6 separate regions of the Homo sapiens genome follow, and regions 2, 3, 4, 5 and 6 are each linked to region 1. Evidence: promoter capture Hi-C in human tissues and cell types (Jung and others, 2019). All regions are on one chromosome and are shown on one strand. The core of a region is centred on a gene start or on the middle of the fragment in contact, and the rest is flanking DNA. Distances in the headings are between cores, read along the strand shown. Region 1 holds the start of CEMP1 (cementum protein 1). Region 2 overlaps ABCA3 (ATP binding cassette subfamily A member 3). Region 3 overlaps SRRM2 (serine/arginine repetitive matrix 2). Region 4 has its middle 29 kb from the start of ABCA3. Region 5 overlaps KCTD5 (potassium channel tetramerization domain containing 5). Region 6 overlaps ERVK13-1 (endogenous retrovirus group K13 member 1).

What was found. Contacts are between HindIII fragments. The study calls those that stand out against the background at their distance.
Region 2: a contact is called between a fragment that was not itself captured here and the fragment with the promoter of CEMP1 in region 1, in 4 of the 25 tissues and cell types used here (dorsolateral prefrontal cortex, lymphoblastoid cells, mesenchymal stem cells and 1 more).
Region 3: a fragment that was not itself captured here is called in contact with the fragment with the promoter of CEMP1 in region 1 in 1 of the 25 tissues and cell types used here (lymphoblastoid cells).
Region 4: a contact is called between a fragment that was not itself captured here and the fragment with the promoter of CEMP1 in region 1, in 5 of the 25 tissues and cell types used here (IMR-90 fibroblasts, dorsolateral prefrontal cortex, heart right ventricle and 2 more).
Region 5: a contact is called between a fragment that was not itself captured here and the fragment with the promoter of CEMP1 in region 1, in 2 of the 25 tissues and cell types used here (bladder and dorsolateral prefrontal cortex).
Region 6: a contact is called between a fragment that was not itself captured here and the fragment with the promoter of CEMP1 in region 1, in 5 of the 25 tissues and cell types used here (dorsolateral prefrontal cortex, mesenchymal stem cells, mesendoderm cells and 2 more).

What each region holds. Positions count from the first base shown.
Region 1 is chr16:2,529,959-2,532,795 of GRCh38, forward strand. It overlaps CEMP1 (cementum protein 1), which reads right to left and starts at 1,450. Exons shown (of 1, transcript NM_001048212.3): 1 at 77-1,450. The coding sequence starts at 1,115. The coding sequence ends at 372. It overlaps AMDHD2 (amidohydrolase domain containing 2), which reads left to right. Exons shown (of 11, transcript NM_001330449.2): 11 at 1-1,459. It overlaps MIR3178 (microRNA 3178), which reads right to left and starts at 2,047; the gene lies at 1,964-2,047. RefSeq lists enhancers at 1,853-1,902, 2,681-2,837, 2,683-2,732. The HindIII fragment of the contact is 25,225 bases long and covers 1-2,837 here.
Region 2 is chr16:2,281,725-2,284,561 of GRCh38, forward strand. ABCA3 (ATP binding cassette subfamily A member 3) reads right to left here. Exons shown (of 33, transcript NM_001089.3): 25 at 2,555-2,713; 26 at 1,462-1,634. Among named protein-coding and RNA genes, the nearest start is that of MIR4717, 8.5 kb to the left of the region's middle. The HindIII fragment of the contact is 5,543 bases long and covers 1-2,837 here.
Region 3 is chr16:2,764,387-2,767,223 of GRCh38, forward strand. It overlaps SRRM2 (serine/arginine repetitive matrix 2), which reads left to right. Exons shown (of 15, transcript NM_016333.4): 11 at 1-2,837. Among named protein-coding and RNA genes, the nearest start is that of ELOB, 11 kb to the right of the region's middle. The HindIII fragment of the contact is 3,944 bases long and covers 1-2,837 here.
Region 4 is chr16:2,368,034-2,370,870 of GRCh38, forward strand. It overlaps the pseudogene ABCA17P. Among named protein-coding and RNA genes, the nearest start is that of ABCA3, 29 kb to the left of the region's middle. The HindIII fragment of the contact is 6,058 bases long and covers 1-2,837 here.
Region 5 is chr16:2,692,012-2,694,848 of GRCh38, forward strand. The region is part of intron 1 of KCTD5 (potassium channel tetramerization domain containing 5); the gene reads left to right. Among named protein-coding and RNA genes, the nearest start is that of KCTD5, 11 kb to the left of the region's middle. RefSeq lists enhancers at 489-1,307, 1,308-2,125. The HindIII fragment of the contact is 3,408 bases long and covers 1-2,837 here.
Region 6 is chr16:2,662,133-2,664,969 of GRCh38, forward strand. It overlaps ERVK13-1 (endogenous retrovirus group K13 member 1), which reads right to left. Exons shown (of 3, transcript NR_040023.1): 3 at 1-1,275. Among named protein-coding and RNA genes, the nearest start is that of ERVK13-1, 9.9 kb to the right of the region's middle. The HindIII fragment of the contact is 6,273 bases long and covers 1-2,837 here.

The DNA of each region.
Region 1 (2,837 bases), core at 200-2,699:
CATGGGGTGAAGCCACCATGGGCTGGGGGTGAAGAGCCGGCAGGAAGGGGACCAGTCACAGGGAGTGTGGACAGTCAGGGGTTTGCTTTCTGCTCCTGAGTTGGGGTGTGCAGCGTGGAGCCCACAGCCTGGTTCTGGGCCAGGGCACAGTGCCAGGGGCTCCGCTCTGACCTCCAGGAGGGAGACTGGGCCCGGGACCCCTGTTTTCTGCTCCCTGGACTGCCTAGCCCTGAGTGCCACGGATGACCAGCGTTCTGTTTTCTCTTCTCAATAACCCTATCTCTTCACACATCCCCAGGCCCAGTGCTTGCCGGCTGTGGTGACCCTGCCTGGTGCTGGAGGGCAGTATGGGAGGCACCAGTGTGCCCTGCTCACCCCATTAGTGTCATCCTGCCATCTTCTGTGTCCCCTTGGCCCTGGCACACACCCATGTGGCAAACACGGGCCGTGAGGCTCCCTGAACAGCTTCGAGGCGGGTGGGCTTCTGGAGCCCTCTTGGCTCTGAGGACAGCCACAGTGGGGTCAGACGTCAGGGATTGGTGCAGCCCCACGTCAGGGGTGATTGTCTTGACTTTCTCTCCATTTGAGTTCTGGGGTGGGTGGCTCCCTTCCCCCTTGCTTACAGGTGCTGTCCTGGGCACAGGAGGTACGCGCCTGGCTCTGCCACTGTTCTCTTCCCTCTGCTGCAAAGCCCAGTTAAGGAAATGTCTCCAGGTCCAAAGAGATAGGATGGTCTGGGCCCCACCTGTTGGAAGGGAACAGCCAGGGAAGAACCACCTGCCTGGGCAGGGCCTCGCCTGAGGGAGGGCCTGGGGCAGGGCACAAGGGGTTGATCTCAGCCCACAAGCCCCAGGGGCAGCCCAGGAAAGCAGGCGACGGATGTGGATCCTGACCTCCTGAGAGGTGTGAGGTGCAGGGATACCCACCTCTGCCTTGACGGCCGCGCACCCCTTAGGAAGTGGCTGTCCAGCGCCTGCCTGTGCTGGGCCTGGGAGAGGAGCTGTCTTGCCAGGGCTCCCAGGCAGGGAGAGGCAGGTGAGGTTCTCAGCCGATGTGTTAGAGGTTGAGCATCGCCTGTGCCCAGCTTGCTGGCTGTCAGTGCTTGATGTGCCCATCCTCAGCTAAAACCCAGAGCTGGCATGTTGGTCATCCCCACCTCAGACGGGACGCCCAGTCCAGAGCTGGTGAGCCCTGGGCCAGCCTTTGGGCCTGGCCTGCCCCATTCACCGGCCAGCGCCCCACCTCCCTGGCTGGAGGGTCGGGGAGGGGCTGGCAGAGATGGTTGGTCCACAGGGCTAGCCCTGGGTGGTGGGAGAGGGGCCCAGGGTCAGGGTGAGAGAGAGCTGGGCCAGGGAGCTGCTGCAGGATGATTTTGAGGTGTGGGGGAAGCACTCTTGGTTGGTTTTGGTTTGCTTTTTAAAAATTGTGGTAAAATACATAACAAAAGTAACTATCGTAACCTGAGCAGTTCTGTGACATGAAGTGAATTCACTGCTTTGTGTGACCTTGGCCACCATCATTCCCCACCACTCACTCCCGCTGGGCTCCCAGCCCTGCCCCACCATTCCGCTCCCTCTACAGCTATGGGTTTTACAAAGAAGGATGCAGGGCGCCCTGACTGCGGGGTGAGGGGCAGGCCTGCCCGCGGTGTGGGCATTCGCTGAAGGGGGACGCCCAGGTGTCTGCCTGAGTTACGGGTTGGGGGGTCGGGCATGTGGGGAGGGATGGAGTTGGAGGTGCATGCTCTCAGAGCTGGTAGGGGTGGCCCGTTTCGTCCCGTGTGTGAACTGGAGATGAGACCCGGCGCCTGCGATCCCGCAGACCGCGCCCGGCCGGGTGTCACTTGTGGGCGCACGCTGCCGGGATGCTGGGCCGAGCCCGCGGTTTAAGACCCAGATCTCAGCCAGGTCCCTTTCGCCGTCCGAGCCTCTGCACCTCGTGGGCTCCGAGCACATCCAGGCCAGAGACTGCGTTTGGGGCGTGGGCACGGGAGACCGTCATCAGCCAGGACGCTCTCGACCGATCCGGCCGCGCCCCGCCCAGCCTCGTAGCGCAGGCGCTGAGTCCAGGCTGACGCGCAACTCTGGGAGCGTTGCGGCACGCGGGGCCTTGCCTACTGTGGGAGGGGCTTCTGGGGGCGGGCTTCTGTCGGGCCAATTAGGATCGCCGCAGGGAAGGCACGCGCCGCGGCTGAGCAACAGGGGCGCGCGTCACCTTCTCTAGTTAACCCGCGCGGCCCCGGGCACAGAGCCCGAGGCTGCGCGGTCCCCGGCGGGCCCGCGGACCCCCCCCATCTCTGCGCCCCCCACATCTCTGCGGACCCCGCCTCGCCCCAGCCCTCCCATCCACAACCCTCACAACCTTGCATACCCCGCTACGCTCCCCACCGCGCCCTCACATTCCTGCAGACCCCGTCTCCCCACAACGCTCCCCGCCAACGCTGCGGAGCTCCGCGTCGCCCCAGCGCTCCCTGCCAAGCCCCCCACACCCCTGTAGACCCCGCCTCGCCCCAACCCTCCGAGCTGCTCCCCTTATACCCTTGCGGACCTAGTTTGTTTCGTCCCAGTCCTCCCCGTCGCGTCTCCCACATCCCTGCGGACCTCCCCGCGCCTCGCCTCTCCCTTCTGTTACGTATCACGCACAGGTGGATCCCACTACGACCCAGCTTGGCTCCTGTCCCGCACCTCCGCACCTGGCCTCTAGCCCCGCCCTCACTGTCTTGGGAAATGAAGCGGAGGGGTGGGCCGGACACTCTAGAAGCACCCTGGCTCGGAGCTTCCCTAGCTCGGAGTTGGTTTGGAGCCCAGGCTAGGGACCCAGGGTGGGCGCAGCAGGGG
Region 2 (2,837 bases), core at 92-2,591, 250 kb before region 1:
ATCTGAGGAAAAAGAACTGTGCGGGACTCATGGAGAAAAATCATAAATCTGCTGGGGAATATAAAATAAGATTTTTAGACAATTTTTTTTTTTTTTTTGAGACAGAGTCTCACTCTGTTGTCCAGGCTGGAGTGCAGTGGCGCAATCTCAGCTCACTGCAAACTCTGCCTCCCAGGTTCAACTGATTCTCCTGCTTCAGCCTCCCGAGTAGCGCGCCACCACGCCCAGCTAATTTTTGTATTTTTAGTAGAGACGGAGTTTCACTGTGTTGGCCAGGCTGGTCTAGAACTCCTGACCTTTGGTGATCCGTCCACCTTGGCCTCCCAAAGTGTTGGGATTACAGGCATTAGCCACCATGGCTGGCCTGAAAGTAAGATTTTTGTTTTCAGATTTAGAGATGGGGTCTTGCTCTGTCACCCAGGCTGGGATGCAATGGTGTAATCATAGGTCACTGCAGCCCGGACCTCCCAGGCTTAAGCCTCCTGTCTCAGCTTCCCTAGTAGCTAGGATTACAGGTGTGTGCCATCATGCCTAGCTAATTTTTAAAACTGTTTAGAAGAGATAGGGTCTCACTATGTTGCCCAGACTAGTCTTGAACTCCTGGCTTCAGGTGATCCACCTACCTCTGCTTTCTAAAGTGCTGGGATTACAGGTGTGAGCCACCATGCCTGGCCAAAGATTTTAACACGTGGAGACAGTTCCCTTTTTAGAGAAGTCTGACTATTTTAAAGAAGTGAATTCCCCCTCGGCTAAGCTGTATGTGCAATGCAATGTCAACACATTTGCTTTTGTTTGTTTGAGGGAGGGGATGGAGACCTGAGAAAATGAACGTTTTCAATAAACACGTGGAGCACCCCTCAGCCCCACATCCCCTCCTCCGGGCACTGGGTGTCCCTGGGCACCACCTCTGCTCAGCAGGACTGGGCACCCCTCAGCCCCACATCCCCTCCTCCGGGCACTGGGTGTCCCTGGGCACCACCTCTGCTCAGCAGGACTGGGCACCCCTCAGCCCCACATCCCCTCCTCCGGGCACTGGGTGTCCCTGGGCACCACCTCTGCTCAGCAGGACTGGGCAACCCTCAGCCCCACATCCCCTCCTCCGGGCACTGGGTGTCCCTGGGCACCACCTCTGCTCAGCAGGACTGGGCACCCCTCAGCCCCACATCCCCTCCTCCAGGCACTGGGTGTCCCTGGGCACCACCTCTCCTCAGCAGGACGGCCCTGGGCCCCCAGGCTGACTCCTCGGCAGGGGCTCACAACTCGACAGCCCTTGTGAGTGGCGAGGGCTGTGCCCCGCCCTGGCTGTAAGTGCCGGCTGGTGCTGAGGCCGTACAGTGGGAGACCATCTGGTGCAGGAGCTGCCTGGTGGAGAAGGAGGTGGAGCTGCCCCAGGTTGTGCTGGGCCCAAGCAGAGACGTGGGGAGCATCTCGCCAGTGTCCTGGGCTCCCGGAGCCACTCACCAGTGTCCGCCTCCTCCGGAGGGCGCAGAGGATGCCCCTGAGTCTCTGAAGCAGGTTGGTCTCGATGAGGAAGAGCAGGATGAGGTAGGCGCACCCTGAGGCGGCCATGGAGGCCACAAACCGGCCGACCCCCGGGGCGCTCCAGGCATAGAAGTTCTCCTGGTACTGGATGTCTGTGGGGCGAGGGAGTCACTGTGCCCCGAGGCCTGGGGCACCCTCCTCCCCTTCCAGGTTCCCGGCCCCCACTCCCCTCCCCAGGCTGCTCAAGGCGCCTGTAACAATGTCCCCTCCATGGGGAGATGTGAAGGCCAGTAGGTCACAGCTGCCTCTCGAGGCACCACAGCTCAGAGAGGGGCCAGGCACGTAACAATCCAATGCAGTCCCATGAGCGACATGGCAGACCCAGGGCAGCAACAGCCCGCCTGAGAGGCACAGGCTCTGCGTGAATCCTGGGCTGCCTCCTGACCAGGACAGAGACCGTTACAAGCACCGAGGGGTGTGTGGGAGGCTGAGGAGGCCCCACAGGACAGGTCCAAGTTCTGTCCCCCTGGACCTGGGGTTGTGATCTTGCTTAGAAACAGGGTCTTTGAATATGTGATTAGTAAGGATCTTAAGGTGAGACACTGGATTAGTGTGGGCCTTAAACCCAACAGCAAGTGTCCTTATAAGAGAAATGCAGAAGGAGATTTGAGACAGGAGACAGGAGCTGCCATGCGAGGATGGAGGCGGTGGTGGGGAGTAGGTGCAGCCAGGAGCTCAGGATGCCTGGAGCCTCCAGGAGATGGGAGAAGCAGGAAGGGTCCTCCCCTGAGCCATGGGGGATTCACTCCTCGTGCTAAGCGCTGGTCTGTGGTTCCTTGTTACAGATGCCCAGACACTGAGGCAGGTGGGAGAGTGGGAGCTCAGGTACAGGGCCTGGGAGCGAGCGGGCGCGAGGGGGCTGCTGTGGGAGGTGGGGCAAGGCGGTACAGAGGAACGCACCAGCCCCAGGCCACTCAGACGCAGAGGAGCCCCTGCCCTAGGAGGCCCCTCTGCAGTGACCACGTCCTGAGGACGCAGGGGTGCTGCCCGGGGTCGGGGCTGGGACACTCACTATATTTCTTGCAGTAGTGGGCGGCGACCTCGGAGGAGGTGCAGTACCTCCGCGTCTCGTAGTTCTCGTAGAAACTGCTGACTGCCATCCCCAGACAGTGGTTGGGCAGCACCAGGAACACGTGATCCAGGGTTTTGGAAAGTTCTTCCAGTTTTACAGCTGCGTTGGGGAGGTAAGATCAGTCTGCGCTGGAGGGCACACCACACCCACCTCCAGGACGGGCCTGGTCAGGGCGGGCACAGGGCCTTATCCGTGCTGTGTGGAGTGAGGGGGCACCTCCCAG
Region 3 (2,837 bases), core at 154-2,653, 230 kb after region 1:
AGCCAGTCACAGGCTTCTTTGGAAGCAGTAGAAGTCCCTTCAATGGCCTCATCTTGGGGTGGGCCACATTTTTCTCCAGAACATAAAGAACTGTCTAACTCCCCACTCAGGGAGAACAGCTTTGGATCACCTTTAGAATTTAGAAACTCAGGCCCACTTGGTACAGAAATGAATACTGGATTTTCTTCTGAGGTTAAAGAAGATTTGAATGGACCGTTTCTTAATCAGCTGGAAACAGATCCATCTCTAGACATGAAAGAACAATCGACAAGATCCTCTGGACACAGCAGTTCTGAGTTATCCCCAGATGCAGTGGAAAAGGCAGGGATGTCTTCAAATCAGAGCATCTCTTCACCTGTGCTTGATGCTGTACCCAGAACACCCTCGAGAGAAAGAAGTAGTTCTGCATCTTCTCCTGAAATGAAAGATGGTTTACCCAGAACTCCATCAAGGAGAAGCAGGTCTGGGTCTTCTCCAGGACTTAGAGATGGGTCTGGGACTCCCTCGAGGCACAGCCTGTCTGGGTCCTCTCCTGGAATGAAAGATATACCTAGAACGCCATCTAGAGGGAGAAGCGAATGTGATTCTTCCCCAGAACCGAAAGCTTTGCCTCAGACTCCTAGGCCGAGGAGTCGTTCTCCATCATCCCCAGAGCTCAACAACAAGTGTCTTACCCCCCAGAGAGAAAGAAGCGGGTCAGAATCATCAGTTGATCAGAAAACTGTGGCTCGGACTCCCCTGGGGCAGAGAAGTCGTTCGGGATCCTCTCAAGAACTTGATGTGAAACCCAGTGCATCCCCTCAGGAAAGAAGTGAGTCAGACTCTTCTCCAGATTCTAAAGCCAAGACAAGAACCCCACTTCGGCAGAGGAGTCGGTCTGGATCATCTCCAGAGGTTGACAGCAAATCTCGACTATCCCCTCGGCGCAGTAGGTCTGGTTCCTCCCCTGAAGTGAAAGATAAGCCAAGAGCAGCACCCAGGGCACAGAGTGGTTCTGATTCCTCTCCTGAACCTAAAGCTCCAGCCCCTCGGGCCCTTCCCAGACGAAGCAGATCAGGTTCATCAAGCAAAGGCAGAGGCCCTTCTCCTGAAGGAAGCAGCAGTACCGAGTCCTCTCCTGAACATCCGCCCAAATCCAGAACTGCTCGCAGAGGTTCCAGGTCATCACCAGAGCCCAAGACCAAGTCTCGTACACCACCTCGACGTCGCAGCTCTCGATCATCTCCGGAGCTAACAAGGAAGGCCAGACTGTCCCGTAGAAGCCGCTCTGCCTCATCCTCACCAGAAACTCGCTCTAGAACTCCCCCAAGGCACCGGAGAAGTCCCTCAGTGTCTTCCCCGGAGCCAGCCGAAAAATCGAGGTCTTCACGCCGACGGCGCTCAGCTTCATCTCCACGCACTAAGACAACCTCAAGGAGAGGCCGCTCTCCTTCGCCAAAGCCTCGTGGACTCCAGAGGTCCCGTTCCCGCTCAAGGAGAGAGAAAACAAGAACAACCCGACGTCGAGATAGGTCTGGATCTTCTCAGTCAACCTCTCGGCGAAGACAGCGGAGCCGGTCAAGGTCGCGGGTTACTCGGCGGCGGAGGGGAGGCTCTGGTTATCACTCAAGGTCACCTGCCCGGCAGGAAAGTTCCCGGACCTCCTCTCGACGCCGAAGAGGCCGCTCTCGGACACCCCCAACCAGTCGGAAGCGTTCTCGCTCACGCACATCACCAGCCCCGTGGAAACGCTCTAGATCTCGAGCCTCTCCAGCCACTCACCGGCGATCCAGGTCCAGAACCCCCCTGATAAGCCGACGTAGGTCCAGATCTCGAACTTCACCAGTCAGCCGGAGACGGTCAAGGTCCAGGACTTCAGTGACTCGACGAAGATCCCGGTCAAGAGCATCCCCAGTGAGCAGAAGGCGATCCAGATCCAGAACGCCACCAGTAACCCGCCGTCGTTCAAGGTCTAGAACGCCAACAACACGCCGCCGCTCCCGTTCTAGAACTCCACCAGTGACTCGCAGAAGGTCCAGATCCAGGACTCCACCAGTAACCAGGAGGCGATCTCGAAGCAGAACTTCGCCTATCACTCGCAGAAGATCAAGATCCAGAACATCTCCGGTCACCCGAAGGAGATCTCGATCTCGCACATCTCCAGTAACTCGAAGAAGGTCCCGCTCTCGAACCTCACCAGTGACACGCCGCCGCTCTAGGTCCCGGACACCTCCAGCTATTCGGCGCCGCTCTAGATCTCGAACGCCACTGTTACCACGCAAACGTTCTCGAAGTCGCTCACCACTTGCTATCCGCCGCCGCTCCAGATCCCGTACTCCACGAACAGCTCGGGGTAAACGGTCCTTAACAAGATCTCCTCCAGCCATCCGCAGGCGTTCTGCATCTGGAAGTAGTTCTGATCGTTCACGATCTGCTACTCCTCCAGCAACAAGAAATCATTCTGGTTCACGGACACCTCCAGTAGCACTCAACAGTTCCAGAATGAGCTGCTTCAGTCGTCCTAGCATGTCCCCAACACCTCTTGATCGCTGCAGATCACCTGGAATGCTTGAACCCCTTGGCAGCTCTAGAACACCCATGTCTGTCCTGCAGCAAGCCGGCGGCTCCATGATGGATGGTCCAGGTCCCCGAATACCTGACCACCAGAGAACATCTGTGCCAGAAAATCATGCTCAGTCCAGGATTGCACTTGCCCTGACAGCTATCAGTCTTGGCACCGCTCGGCCTCCTCCGTCCATGTCTGCTGCTGGCCTTGCTGCAAGAATGTCCCAGGTTCCAGCCCCGGTGCCTCTCATGAGTCTCAGAACCGCACCAGCAGCCAACCTTGCCAGCAGGAT
Region 4 (2,837 bases), core at 186-2,685, 160 kb before region 1:
ATCCGCCCACCTCGGCCTCCCAAACTACTGGGATTACAGGCATGAGCCACCACTTTTGGCCCTATTCTATCTTTTTAAACACATGTCCTGTTCAACACGCATGTCATATTGTATGATCTATGTCTAACATGCCTCCATTACAATCTCCACTGACTGTATCCTTTGCATTTCATCCGTCTCATTTAATTTAATGAAGAAGAAACAGAAGATAATCATCCACACTCTTGGGACTCTCTGCATGTCTGTGCAGCTCCAAAGAGTCTGTTCCTGCTTTGGGGGAATCCCTGAACTCTTTCTGGCCTGTTCATTGGCTGATGCTTCACTTTGATTTTATTTACTCTGACTGATGCTTTTAGATCTTGCCTTGATTCTTATTCCATCCTCCCTGCCCCATCTGCAACACTGGTGCAGAATCCCAGTTCCTGTTCTTCAGGCCTCTTGGTCTTGGCTGGCCCTCTCCCTTTCCCTCTCATGAATCTCCCTATCTGCATTTCTAGTCTGGGAAAATCTCCTTTTCCCTGTCTGTCATTCAGGATAAGAGGACAGAAAATTAATGCCAGAAGGTTGGAGTTTTTCCAGGAGTTCCTATTTGTCCCAAGGGCTGGCATGTGGTCCCAAAGCCAGGTCCTGACTCCTGGCTGCCATAGTCCTCTCTTCTTGGGGAGCCATGCTGACTTTCTGCTCTGTCACCCTCTGTTGAGGGTGAAGGAGAGAGCCTTGCTGAGTGGCTGCTTTGCATCTGCTTGCTCTCTCCCATGCAAAGGGGTCTAACTGCACCTGACAGAGCAAACACCTAAAACTTGGCACCCAGTACTCCCTGGATCTGCCTGCGTTGCCCAACTCTCGCTTCTGGCAACCCCAGGTTCCTAGAGAAGTACTGGGGCAACACTGACACCTGTGCATCCTCTGTCCTTCACAATAAGCATCACATTCCCGACTGAAGGCCCATGGGCCAATCCGCTCTTGAAAGACTCATGCTCTCCCATTCACTTTAGATTTTTTGGTCTTCCTTTTTGTGAGGGGTTTAGGGTGAACATCCTCTAGGCAACTAACTTTTCTTAGAAAATTAAGCTGGTAATCTACATCTGTTGTAGAATGGCTCAAATATTGGCTTGAAGCCTCAGGCCTTTGTGCACACTAAGTGAGAGTCCAAGTCCGAGTACTTACAGTTTTGCATAATTCTAGAAAAGATCCAGCAGTTCTGCAGTGAAAATACTCCTACACACAATCAAGAATATGTAACCATTCTGAGAATTTATTACCAACAATTTGTTCCTTCTTTTTCCTGGACAGATCTGAGAGTCTGCCTAGGTCTAGGCCATCTGAAGACCATAGCCACCTCTACTCCTGGGAGGGGGTTGAGGTACCCCACCTTGGCTTTGCTCATGTTGGAGCCTGGTAACCATTGCTTGGAGGTGGGGCTGTTATCTCTTAGAGGACCCCAGAACCAGGAATCTTTGCCTTTCAGCCTATTTTTCCTGAAAGCTGACCCCATCATGCCAACTATGCTGTATTGAAATGAGTGTTGCTTGTGATAAGGACTGTTTTTGAGACTTAGTAGTAAAATTCACTGACCATAAACCCAACAGCGGTAACAATTCAGAAGTAGGTCACAACAGGTTAGGGAGGCTGTGTCTTTCAAGTGCTTTGAGTTTAACCATCTCATATGAGTGCTTTGAGTTTAACCATCTCATACGTGCTGTGTGATCAAAACTGCAGAAGAGGTGCTCTTTCCCTGAAGTCTGAATACTAAGGGGAGGAGATGTGGTCCCACCTCAAAAGATTCTTGTATTGGACATCTTTTATTTTGCCTGCCCAGGCTCCTTTACCCCATTTTTGGATCATATATGCATTACCCTCAGCTCCAGGGGTCTCCCTTGTGACTTTCCTCTCTTTCTTCCACACTGTAGTGAGGACTCTAGGGATGCCTTTCCTACCGCTGTCTGTCTCTATGAATGCCTAGCCATGATCCGTCTGAAACACCAGTTGTTGTATCTTTATACTTTCTTTCTTTTTTCTTTTTCTTTCTTTCTTTCTTTCTTTTTTTTTTTTTTTTTTGAGATGGAATCTCCCTCTGTTGCCCAGGCTGGAATGCAGTGGCGCAATCTCAGCTCACTGCAACCTCTGCCTCCCACCAGGTTCAAGCAATTCTGCCTCAGCCTCCCGAGTAGCTGGGACTTTAGGCATGCACCACCACACCCAGCTAATTTTTGTATTCTTAGTAGAGATGGGGTTTCACCATATTGGCCAGGCTGGTCTCGAACTCCTGACCTTAATTTCTTGATATTCACTATTTTCTCATAGGATACAACAAAGAAGGCTTCCTGGCCATACAGTATGCTGTGGATAAAGCCATCATGTGGTACCATGCTCACAATGCAATGACCAACATGTTTGAGAATCTCAATGTACTTGTGAAGAGATTCCCATATGGACCCTATATCGAGGACAGGTTCTTCCTAGTCCTTCAGAATGAGTTTTCTGTGTTCTTCATACTCAGCTTCATGTACATTGAGCTCATCATCATCAGTTCCATTGTACTGGAGAAAGAGAAAAGACTGAAGGTAACCCCAGATACTTCAAGTGTATGCCTCTCCTGGGACAGGGGTATGGGGAAGCTGCTAATGAAAAATGACCAGAATAGGAATGAAGCCAAAAGGAGGTTGCTTAGGTGTCCAAGCAACTTCCAAGGTGAGTTGGAACTTGGAAGGTTGTTCACAATTTTAACTTGCTTGCAATCTAGGTGATCCCACCTCTGTTATTACATGAATCCTTGCCTTTAGTCTGAGAATGTCCAGCCTGGTCATTCCTGGTTGGTCAGCACACTGCCTCCCACT
Region 5 (2,837 bases), core at 212-2,711, 160 kb after region 1:
CTCTGTCAGGAGCCTGAGCTCCAGGGACTGAGACGAGCTGGGCAGAGCCTAGCCACTGTGGCCAGAGCTCTCACTGCCAGCAGGATCTCTCTTCAGGCACCCTGGAAAGGTGCCATGGCTCCGGCTGGTAAACTTGGCCTTGCAAAGCTCCACGTCCCTGTGTCTGGATGTGCCCAGCCCTGCTGATACGGTGTCTTTAGGGTGTCGCTTTTCTGGCCAGAAACGTCTCTGGCCGGCAGCACCTTTGTCCAAGTTCCTGTTCTGCGTCCAGGAAGAATGAGGTAGCAGACAAGTGGAGGGTGAGCATGACGAAGAGAAGCTTTACCAAGTGTTGGGACAGTGCAGAGGAGACTGTGGGGGCAGCTCCTCTCTGTAGGCAGGTCGGCTCATTCAGTTGGCAGCTCTCAGCAGAGAAGCGGCCCCGGACTGGCTGGCTCCTCTCCATTGACTTCCCAGCTCTCAGCAGAGAGGGTAGCTTCCCTCTGCAGCTGGTCTTCCACTTGCCAATTGTCTCTGTCCTCTTTGTCCTCTGCCCTGCTCTGGCTGAGCCCAGGGCTCTTATGGACCCAGAGGGAAGGAAGTGCATACTAATTGGTTCATGGGCAGGCCCGGAAAACGCACCACAAGTCCCCACTTTGGTCCCCGGGACTGGCAGCCCGGCCCCAGCCTTCATGCCCTCCCTGGCCTGAAGGTGGGGCCTTACCGGGGACCTACCCCCTTCTTCCCAGGAATCTATCTGCCTCCTGCTGCCATACATGGCGCCTGGGCTCGGCCCCAACTTTGCTCCAAGATCGGAGCAGGCACCAACAATAGGAGTAAGCCAGGCAGTGAGAGCAGGCACTTCTGAGCCTGCAAGGGCCCGGCAGAGGGGCCTTTCTGGGCCCCCAAGAGTGCAGGGATGCCTGAGGCTGTGGTTTGGGCAGCTGCAGTTGTGGGCCTGCCTGCTCCGTGGAGCGGGAAGCCCGGGTCTGCAGCCATAGTTTGGGTGGGGCGAACCCCAGGGCTGCAGCCCCAGGCAGCCCCACGCAGATCCTCCTCCCGAGGCCCGGGAACCTGACATCTTCAGTGGGGTGGGTGTGATGGCTGTGCCACTGGCTGGGTCCTCACCGCTGGTGCCACTCTCACTACCCACCCCAGGCCCCCGAAGCACAGCCCCAGCTCTGCATCGGGGCCCCTCTCCACCCAACCATGCTGCTCTCCTGCCATGCTGAGGGCAGTGGGCTATGGTGTGGGGAGTGGGGTCTGTTCGCCTCCTCCCTGTTCCCTCCCTGCAGCGGCAGGTATCACGTGATGGCAGCAGCTGCACCAGTTGGCCTGCTGCTGGCATCACCGCACTGGGCCAGCTGTGGCCAGACTGAGGTCAGGAGTTCCTTCAAAGCATCAGCCACAAAAGCTGCCTCCTAAAGGGGGTGTTTAATGGAAAAGCCAGCCCCGCCCAGTGGTAGGAGTGGCCAAGACACGGCAGCGGCCTACCCCTGCCTGCCCGTCTTGAGGCCGAGCCCAGTGCCAGCACGCTCAGTGCCCTGCCGGCTCCTTGGACCTGTCTGTGTTCCTCTGTCCTGCTGTGCAGTTTCCGCCGATGGCCGTCCCCACCCTGCCCTCCTTCCCTCCTGCCTTCATCCTTCCAGTTGCAGGGCTGGGGTTGCCTCGTGTGTCTGGGGGCGCCCAGCACGCTTCCTTCTCCTCTTGCACCGGCCCAGGGCCTGAGAAGCACATGGTGGGTTGTCTTGGCCTAGAGGTCACGGCTCAGTGCCCAGGTCCTGCCACAGGTTGGGTGCCCTGGCACTCATGGCGGCCCCGAGCTACACGAGCTGGTCTCCCCCACCTTTTGCTCGTAAAGAAACTGAGGCTTGGGGTGGCCTGGCTGTGAGCCTGCAGTCTGACCACTGAGGCCAGGCCTGGAGGCCTCCATGGCTGACAAAGGGGTTCTCTGGGGTTGTCCTGGGCAGAGGCGAGCCTCCGCCCTATCTGATCTTTCCTGACCTCCTGCCAGCGGTCTGTCGAGGTAGCAGTGAGCCGTGAATAATTCCTGAGCTGAGCGGTGTGCGGACGTCACGCGGCCAGCATTCTCTCTGTATGGGGGTGGGGCAGGGAGGAACCCTGGACTCGGGTGGCAGCACTGGCCGCCTTGCCAGACTTGGGCCCCTTTGTGGGAAATGGTGTCCATTTTTTAGCAGTTGCGCAGGACCGCCCAGCGTCCTCTTCCCGGGAGCTGGCCCTGTGGCCCCGGCCCTTGCTTGAGAGCTGTGGAGTCTGGAGGGCTGGGGAAAGGCAGGGCCAAGCCCAGGAGGCAGGGCCTGTGGGGTGGGCAGCTCTGGCTGGAGTGTTCCGGGGGAGGGTGGGGAAGGAGGATAGGGTCAGGTCTGTGTGGAGCTGGGGTCACCCTAAGGAGTAGGGGGGCCGCCGAGGCTCCGGGTCCAGCGCCCCCATGCCCGGAGCCCTAATTGATTTTATCTCAGCCACAAAACTCAGTCCCTGTGATCTAAAAAGAGCAGGTTGTTGCAGGTTTGCGGTGGTGGACTTTGGGAAAATCTCTTGAGACCACTAGGTCTTAGCACCCAAATGGCAGAATTTGTCCATGGATGAAAATAGGGTCCTAGCGTGGCCCCGTGCTTTGTGGTGGAGACACCTTCGGCCTCCCCATATCTGCGAGCCTGGCATTCCCGTGGCCAGCGCCTGCCCATGGCCCCACAGGAGCCACCATCTGGTGAGGGGGCTGCTCCTGCTCCGAATGGGGTGTGGGGTTGCTTCTCCAGCGCTTGGCCCTGGGCCTCGCCGGGGAGGCTGCCGGTGTTTCTGAACGGAGGCCTCAGCTCCCCGGCCTCCAGGGCACCCGC
Region 6 (2,837 bases), core at 154-2,653, 130 kb after region 1:
TATAGTTTGTGCATCAGGCATCATAATTATATTTCCAACCAACAGCATGTAAGGGGGTTTGACACAGCTCCTAATGGGTATCACCCATTCAGAAATAAGGGTGATGTTGAATGTGGGTGTTTTGGTTTTAGTACGAAGGAGCTGATAGGTAGTGTTCCATATCTTTATTCCCGACAAAGCTGCAGCTAATTTCCATAGTTCAGGATGTTCTGGGGTAAAAAAGGGATGAATAATTTTTGGTCTAGGAGGAGCAATACCTGTGTCCATCCATTTAAATGGGTAAGGAGACACCCGTTGTCTCATCGTGTAAGACTGCCACCCATGCTCTATATAATCTAAGGAATAAATAAACTCCGAGCATAAGGTATTTTTGCTGGAGCAATCTTGCCAATAATGTCCTTTTGGAGCCCAATCAATAACAATACCCATGGCTAGAGTTTGGAGTACAACAGCCTTGGGAGCATTACAATTATCCCATAAAATTGAAGTCACTATAAAAGGCCCATTTGTAGGTTTCTTTGGACAGTCCGGCAGTCCTTTTGTTTTATTAGTTTTGGTAGTGAGAGGAACTCTCCATGCCTCATGTGGGGTACGTTTGACAGTGAGAAGTTGAAAAGAGTTAGTACTGAACACATTATATACTTGATAAGAATCATTTGTAAAGGACGGTACAGTCCACATCCAATTCTGTTAAGAATAAGCTAAACAACCAGGCGACTTCCCAATACATAATGGTGGATATTTATAGCCAATTGACAGATTAAAGTGCATACCTTCTTCTTCCGGTTGAGCTGGAAACCGATCATCATTAGGGATCGGCATGAATGCACTATTATTAGTGTAAACTTCTACTGGAGAGTCCCTCCAGGAGACAGACCGAATTAGAAGGGGAAAAGGAACATATGCCCAATAAGTATAATTTTGAGTTGCCCCGACCGGTGGTATACTTACCGCTGCACTGACTACCATAAAGGCAGCCAGAATTATATTACCAGTCATTTTTGGGATTCCTTTTTCTGTTAAGAATTTTTCTGTTTGATGAGATAAAATCTGTATTCGACCCCAAGTAGGTGGGGTTGAACGAGAGGTGTTGTAGGTCACACGGCGAGATTTTGTCTCAATGTGGATGTCATGAAGTGTATGTATCAGGCGGTGAAAGTTGCTCTTTTGTTTCCGATGGGTCTTTGCCTTTTCTTTCTGGGAGCGTTTCATCTTTGGAGTTATGGTGCAATTTTAATTGTCGGGAGGGGACCCACACAGGCTGTAGTTCTTTTCCTGGGGAAACACAAACAAAACCCCTACCCCAAGTTATGACCGTGCCTAATTCCCATGTGTTAGTTTTTACGTCCTTCCACCATACCCGCATTCCTTTTTGTGGATCAAATTTATTTCCAGTGAAATGTTGTTCTGCGGCTGTGAAAGGTTGATTTCTTGTTAAGTTTAAGAAATTTAGTGTGAAAAGAGCCAGATTTAATTGGGCATGAGGAGTAATAGCATCTCCCTTTGATTTAGTATCCTGTTTACGAAGTTGATCTTTGAGTGTTTTATTGGCTCGTTCAACCAAGGCCTGTTCTCCAGAGTTATAGGGAATGCCCGTTGTGTGAGTAATTGCCCATGTCTGAGGAAACTTTTTAAAAGCAGCACTAGTGTAGGCGGGGCCGTTATCAGTTTTTAGTTTCTCAGAACAGCCCATAACCGAGAAACAGGAAGGCACATGTCGTTTACCATGAGCTGTACTTTCGCCCGTTTCACAAGTGGCCCAAATAAAATGAGAAAAGGTATCAATAGTTACATGTATAAAAGAAAGCTTGCCAAAAGGAGGATAATGAGTCACATCCATTTGCCAAAGAGCATTCTGTGAAAGTCCTCTAGGGTTAACTCCTGAAGACAGTGGTGGTAAAATTAACACTTGACAAGTAGGACAGTGACGCACAGTAGTTTTAGCTTGCTTCCATGTAAGGGGGAACTTGTTTCGGAGTCCCGCAGCATTGACGTGAGTTAAAGCATGAAAATTTTCTGCATCTGTAAAAACGGGAGTAACTAATGTATCAGCTCTGGCATTTGCTGCCGAGAGGGGTCCGGGGAGGGGTGTGTGGGCCCGAATGTGAGTACTGTAGAAAGGAGAAGACCTTGCTCTGAGCACAGACTGAAACTTTTGAAAAAGAAGGAATAGGTTATCATCAGGCAGAAATTTGATTAAGGCAGTTTCAATGTTGCGAGCAACATGTACGACATACGCTGAGTCAGAGAAAATGTTAACTGGCTCAGGAAAATCTTCAAGGACAGCCATAACAGCAGGCAGTTCAGCTCGTTGTGCTGAAATAGCCCCTGTGTTAAGAACACGTTCTCTGGGTCCTGTATATGCTGCTCGGCCATTAGAGGAAGCATCAGTGAAAACAGTGACAGCTTCAGGTAATGGGGTGTTTCTAGTAATGTTACGTAAAATCCAAGACGTGAGTTTAAGGAACTGAAATAATTTTACATGAGGATAGTGATTATCAATTATACCTGGGAAACGTGCCAAATGCACTTGCCAAGCAATGCAAGTAGCAAAGCCTGTTGAACTTGTAATCGGGTAAGGGGAACAACGATTTTTTGAGGCTCTGTTCCTGAAAGACGAAGGAGACGAGAACGAGCCTGACCAATTAAGGTAGAAATTTGATCTAGATAGTTAGTGTACGTAAAGAGCTGTGTGGGAGAAAACACAATTCAATTAAATTATGTCCCTGAATAATGAGTCCTGTTGGTGAATGTTCAGTGGGAAAAATTAGTACTTCAAAAGGTAAATGTGGATTTACTCTGGTAACCTGAGACTGTTGAATGCATTTTTTTATAAG